2 separate regions of the Homo sapiens genome follow, and region 1 is linked to region 2. The links are contacts of gene promoters, found by promoter capture Hi-C in blood cells and fetal thymus (Javierre and others, 2016). All regions are on one chromosome and are shown on one strand. Each heading gives the region's core, a stretch centred on a gene start or on the middle of the fragment in contact. The rest is flanking DNA. Distances are from core to core; before and after follow the strand shown.

Region 1 (3,282 bases), core at 67-2,566, 580 kb before region 2:
TGGTGGTAGGATCAGATTTGCATCTGGGAAAACTCACTCTGGCTGTACTGTGGAGACTGGGTTGGAAAGGAGCATGGATGGATGAAGGGGGACCAGTTGGACAGCTGTGACAGTATACCAGGTGAGATACGATGGTGGTTTGGCCAAGGGTAATGGTGGCAGAAAAGAAAAAATGAAGATGAGTTCAAGAAAAAAAATATAAGGAATAAAAAATCATATAAAAAAGTAATCAGGAAAGTACACATTACAATGAGATAAATTTTCATCCATCAGATTGGCAAAAATTTTAAAAGACTGCAAACCTATATCATGTTGATGAAAAGGGGGCAACTCTCACATATTGCTGGCATAGAAATTTTGATGGCAATTTGATAGCATCAAAATGAGCATTCCTACCAATTCAATTCCATTATCTAAAAATCTACTCTATAAAAATATTACCCTTTGTACCCAAAGATATATGTTCCAGGATATTTACTGAAGCTTAGTTTATAATAGCAAAAAGTTTGAAACTATCCAATGTCCATTAGCAACAGAATATTAAGTACAAAATTTAGATAGAATATTGAGTAGAATAGAGTATTAAGTACAAAATTAAAAAGAATAAAGTTAATCTTTACTTGATGGGAATTATCTATAATATATTCTTAGGTAGAAAAAGCAAGTTTCAGAAAAATATGTATGTGACCCATGTATGTATTTGTGCTTTAAGTATATCTTTGTGAATGCAAAGTAAAGCACCTGGGATGATGCATATCAATCTGTGTGTGGTCTGTATCTTCTCAGGAAAATAGGAAACTTAGGTTGTCTGTTGAGAATGAGAGCAGCCGTTCCAAACATTTTCCATTTGAGGAGAATGGTTTTGGCTTGAAATCACTTTGTGGGGAATAGGAAATGCAACTGACCCTACATTGCCAAACCTTACTGAAGGCTCAAAATGGTAACCCAGCCAACTGTCAAGGTCATCTCATTTTCTCCAGCAAGACTCAGGACATGGAAAAGGAAGAAATAGCCAGATATTGAGCATCTTCCATGACCCAGGCTGCCTCGTGTTTCACACTAAGCTAAATCATTAAAACTTTCTAAACATAAGTTCACATGGATGATAATATCCCACTTTGCAGATTAGGTGGCTAGGCAGTCCAGGGTCACACAGTAAGTGAGTGATATAATAGAACTCCCAAGCCCCCGATTAGTGTGCCTTCTAGGCTCTCTCCCCACTTTCTGCTGGCTGGGGTGCTGTTCTCTTGGATGGTAGAGCTGCCAGATGGAGGGCATCTGGATCTCTGGATGACCCCATGAAAAAAGCTCTTCTATCCCTAAACCATCTACCAGCTCAGACTTTTATAAAAGGAGGAAAGCAAACTCCACCCTTATTTAACCTCCTCAACAAGATTAAAGTTTATTTTACTATCTGCCAACCACTGTGACAATATCCTAATCAAAACATTTTCTAAACAGAGAAATAAAGCAGTTCATTAAAAGCATTAAGAAGATTTAATCTGTAAGCCTAAATGGAATATTATTAGGCTTGATTAACTTAGTATATAGAGGGAGAAGTATCTCCGTTTTCTCAATGATATCCTTTTCCCCTTTTACCACATAGAGTGGTGTCCCTTTATTGTTTAACATCCAAACAATTTATAGTTATAAATAGTGCACATTAACTAGTATTTCAGTATAATATATACTATTGAAGATGACACTAAATAAATCATAATTGAAAACTGTCAATTATGAGAGTTGGTAGAAACTAGAAAGGATTCCATTTTCAGGCAGTTATAATCATTGTCCTGAGTGAGTCAGGAGAGAATGTGTGCTGCTCTGGGGTGGGGCCCCTACCTCTTTCTGTCATCACAGTTGGAGTCAGAGCTGTTGTGTTGACAAGCTGTGTGACGCTGCTGCATCCTCACAGCACGGCCCATGCAACGTCCAGGACACTGGAACAAAAAAGCACAGTGCAGTGTAAATCCTGCAAGCTCATCCATGCTGTGTGTACTAAGATCATGTACTGAGGCAGGATAGCTGAAGACCTATTACAAGGGGACTGTAACCAACTGTCCCCAGGGGGGAGTTAAAGAGGATTAGGGTACAGCTCTGTGGACCAGACACCTCTTTTTCAGAGTCAGGAAGAAACTGCCTAAGCTTACCATCCCCTCTGTATTAGTCCATTTTCACACTGCTCTAAAGACATACCCGAGACTGGGTAATTTACAAAGGAAAGAGGTTTAATTGACTCACAGTCAGCATGGCTGGGGAAGCCTCAGAAGACTTACAATCATGTCAGAAGGTGAAGGGGAAACAAGGCACCTTCTTCACAAGCGGCAAAGAGGAGAAGTGCCAAGTGAAGGGAGAAGAGCCCCCTTTATAAAACAATCAGATCTTGTGAGAACTCACTCACTATCATGAGAATAGCATGAGGGAAACTGTCGCCATGATCCAACTGCCTCCACCTGGTCTCTCCCTTGACATGTGGGGATTGTGGGGATTAAAATTCAAGATGAGATTTGGGTGAGGACAAAAAGCCTAACCATATCATTCTGCCCGTGGCCCCTCCCAAATCTCATGTCCCTTTCACATTTCAAAAGCATTCATGCCTTCCCAACAGTCCCCCAAAGTCTTAATTCATTCCAGCATTAACCCAAAAGTCCAAGTCCAAAGTCTCATCTGAAATAAGGCAAGTCTCTTCTGCCTATGAGCCTGTAACATGAAAAGTAAGTTAGTTACTTCCTAGATACAGTGGAGGTACAGGCAGTGGATAAATACACCCATTCCAAATGGGAGAAGTTGGCCAAAATAATGGGACTATAGGCCCCATACAAGGCCAAAATCCAATGGGGCAGTCAAATCTTAAAGTTCCGATATGATCTCCTTTGACCCCATGTCTCACATCCAGACATGACCCCGTGTCTTCCATCATGCTGATGTAAGAGGTGGGCTCCCATGGCCTTAAGCAGCTCCTCCTCTGTGGCTTTGCAGGGTACAGTCCTCACTCCTGGCTGCTTTCATGGGCTGGTGTTAAGTGACTGTGGCTTTTCCAGGCACACAGCACAAGCTGTCAGTAGATCTACCATTCTGGGGTCAGAAGGATGGTGGTCCTCTTCTCACAGCTCCACTAGGCAATGCACCAGTGGAGACTCTGTGTGGAGGCTCCAACCCCACATTTCCCTTCTGCACTGCTGTAACAGAGGTTCTTTATGAGGACCCTACTCCTGCAGCAAACTTCTGTCTGGACATCTAGGGTTTTCCATACATTCCTCTGAAATCTAGGCAGAGGTTCTC
Region 2 (3,381 bases), core at 455-2,954:
CACCAAAAATCTGTAGCTCCAGTACCAGCCTCACCCCCTGAGCTGCAGGTCAGGATATGCACCCCAACCCAGGCCAGTGACATGTGAATGTCCCAAAGACCCCTCAAAGTCCCTGGGTTCAGTGGTGAATCCATCATCTCCACCCTCACCTGAATAGCCTCTCCTCCAGGGCTCCTTAACACCTTGAATAGCACCACTGTCCACCCAGTGCCCCCAGCTAGAAACAGCATCACCCAGTTTCCATATGGAAAGAGTGTGAGTGAGGGGACAGCAGTGCCTTTCAGCCTGGAACTGGGGCTAGAAGAAGAGAATCTTCTAATTGCAGTTGCTTTCTATGGGCCAATTTGTGGGAGAAGCAGGATGAGACCTCACCACAAATGTGGACGTTGAATGAAATCTGTCTACCCTGGCTCTAGCAAAATGGGGGCTGGGGTTGCGGGGAGAGGTGGTGAGAAGCAACAGACCCAGCGGTGCTGGTGGGGAACAGGTTTTACAACGTGAGCTCTGCCATAGCTGGAAGAGCCTGCAATGTTGATGTTGAAAAACAAATTTGCTTGTCATCAACACACACACACACACACACACACACACACACACACACATCAATTTCATGTCTCCCCTCCTGTTTTCCTGTTTCCTCTGCTCAGAACGGCTTTCCTCCTATCATCCCACACCCTCAGCCATAATTCTTCCTCATACTTAATTCTCAAATGACATGTCTCCTCCTCCGGGAAGCTCTCCCTGACGCCCCCACTGTGTTATTTGTCATCCTCTGTGCGTGGAGGTGTGTCTAGCACTGTTTGTTTACGTGTCTGTCTCCGTGTCTCCCCTGCAGGCTGTCAGCTCTGTAAGAGCAGAAGCGTGATGCCCAGCCCCGGGCCGACACCGGGAAGACGGTGGGGAGGGGAAGGACCGCGGTAGAGAGCCCCAGCCGGGGAGCCGGGCACAGTCCAGACGGGGCCATTTCGATGCGCGCGCGGGGAGCTCAGCGGGACACAGCCAAGCGCCAAATACACAGCATCTCTGGAGGCGCCGGTGGCCGGTGGAGGATGGGCCCCCCACGAGGCTCTCCCAACCAAACGGCTGGAGACTCGGGGGAGGCCCTGCCGGCATCGTACTCCCTGTGGTCGTCCTCCCCTCGCGCGGGTAGGGGCCCCCCCACGCCCACTCCGTCTCCGCCTCCCGAGTCCCCGCGGCCGCCACCTCTGCCCTCCGCTCCGCAGAATCTCTCCGATTTACAACGGCCCAGGGCAGAGCCGGGGGCCAGGGAATGGGAAGGAGAAGGCGCCAAGACGCCGAGGAGAGAGCAGGCGGCCCCTCACCCCACCCTCGCGCCCTCCTAGGCGGGAAGAAATTGAGCCCCGAGAGAGGCCCTTCAGGGAACAGGAGTCCCAAAGGCCCGGGAGCCTCGGGGGGCCGCAGCCTCCGCGTCCCCCTCCCTCCTTCCCTCCTCTGCGCCTCCCTACCTGGCTGGCTTTGTGGAACTGCTTCTTCAGCCCGGCCACCGACATCGCGACTGCGACCGGCAGGGGCGGGGTGGTCTCAAGGCTCGGCTGGGCCACGCGGCCGCGACGCGCTCGGGGAGCGGGAGCCCGGGCCGGTCCCCCCGCGGCTGGGCTCCGCCGGGCCCGCCTCCCACGGCCACGGCCACAGCCACAGCCGCTGTCACACTCGCACACACGCGCGCACGCCGATGGCAACACTGCGTTCCAAAGCCCCTGCGCAGCCCATTGGCCAAGCCGCGGCGATATGCAAATGAAGCTGCTGGGGCCGCCCACGCTTCATTGTTGCGTGGAGACCTGGGCTACTTGAGCCGCGCAGAAGACCGGCCTGGGAAGCTGGGCGTGGGGATGTCCTGGGGGTCGGGGGAGTACAGTCACACAGTGCTTCTTGCTGGGCGCGGGACGATATAGATCTAGCTCTGAGATTGTCATGGGTACCGGGAGAGAGATCAGTTCTCTCTGCTTCTGTCTTGGTGCCGAACCGGCTTTGGCTCACAGGCAACATCGCCTCCCTCCGGCGCATTTTCGCTCGGTGTATGTTTAAGAAAGGAAGGCTCAGAAATGCGCCTAGGGAGGGACAACAAATGCAACTCGATGGGGGACCTGTGGTAGGAGGAAGCGGTCTGTGGGTGGCGGGCTTTCTTCTCTCTCCACGCGGTGCTCTGGGTGCAATCTGCTCAAATGATTTTGGTCTTCTGGGAGCCCTAGAGTTATGGAGTAATTTACTAATAAATACGGTGCTAGCTCACTTGGTGCTCTGAGCCCGCTGTCAACGGCACTAAAAGCAACCATCTCCAAGGTGCCATAAAGAGCTCGTTGCATATCCGGCGGAGTCCACCAGACCAGGAACCCAGCTCTCTCGGTAACCCCTACCAGCTGTGTCAGTTACAGAGTGTCCATTTGCACAGAGTCCAGAGGTCGACGCACTCACAGCTAAGCCCAGCCAGGGACATGGAGCATTGCGTTAACCTCGTGTTAGAGCTATCCCCAAAAGGTACAGCATCTTCGCTGAATCTGGCTTCCAAAGGTCCCGAGGATTCCCAAACCTAGAATATATGTTTGGCAACGCTTCACACTGAAAAACAAAAACATTTCCCACCTTCAGTCTCTTTTTGGGCCCTTAGCAGGTCCCATCTGGGGTGACGAGCAGTCCCTGTCTGCCCTGGACACTTCGGGTATATGCCTGTGCCCTGGTGTCCACCTGCCATAACATTTCTCCAGGACAAAAGTCATGCAGTTCCTCCCCTAGCTGTTAGCTCCCAGCGCCCAGTCGGGGCTAGTCCTAACCCTGACTTCATCCTAGTGAGGACTGGGCAAGTAAGTACACACCTCTCTGGGCCTTGGTTTCCTCACTTCTACTTGAAGCATGTAGACTGGAATAAACAGTGTTCCTCCTCTGATACTGGGGAAAAAATGCTTGAACTTAGTGGAGATCGTGGGATAAGGGCAGCCAGTCAGAGGGTTAATGAGCATGACTTGGGTGAGTGTTGTGGGCTTACCTGCCTGACACCAGCCACTGATAGATAACTAAAAAGTGTGAGGGTGGTGACAGCTGGGTCAGAATGGCGTAGCAAGATGACCTGTCCATACAACAGTTCAAATGCCTCTCAACAGTGGGCTTCACCGCAGGCCAACCACTACATAAGGCAGAGAGCCAGCTGCAGCTGGAGTCCAGGATTGGCAGGTCTCTCTTGTCCTAGGCTATTCAGGGCTGCTCAGCTTCCTCTTTCTCCATGCTCCAGAGAGGTTTAAATAGCACCGGTTCTATGGTACCTCCCCCTAGACCAATCCGGCTCTGTGCCCTTTGGGAGGAGGGGGGTGCTTTTTTTTCAAACAGTTTATTGGCATTTCCTCCACAGTCGTTAGTACATTCAAGTTT

The links. The method cuts DNA at HindIII sites, captures the fragments that hold promoters and counts their contacts. A CHiCAGO score of 5 or more calls a contact.
Region 1: a contact is called between a fragment that was not itself captured here and the fragment with the promoter of SH3GL3 in region 2, in 1 of 17 cell types (M2 macrophages). The highest score is 5.3, in M2 macrophages.

Annotation. Positions count from the first base shown.
Region 1 is chr15:84,029,993-84,033,274 of GRCh38, reverse strand. ADAMTSL3 (ADAMTS like 3) reads right to left here. Exons shown (of 30, transcript NM_207517.3): 28 at 1,843-1,940. Among named protein-coding and RNA genes, the nearest start is that of GOLGA6L4, 200 kb to the left of the region's middle. The HindIII fragment of the contact is 1,662 bases long and covers 486-2,147 here.
Region 2 is chr15:83,445,664-83,449,044 of GRCh38, reverse strand. SH3GL3 (SH3 domain containing GRB2 like 3, endophilin A3) reads right to left here and starts at 1,704. Exons shown (of 9, transcript NM_003027.5): 1 at 1,467-1,704. The coding sequence starts at 1,511. RefSeq lists an enhancer at 1,849-2,008. The HindIII fragment of the contact is 8,141 bases long and covers 1-3,381 here.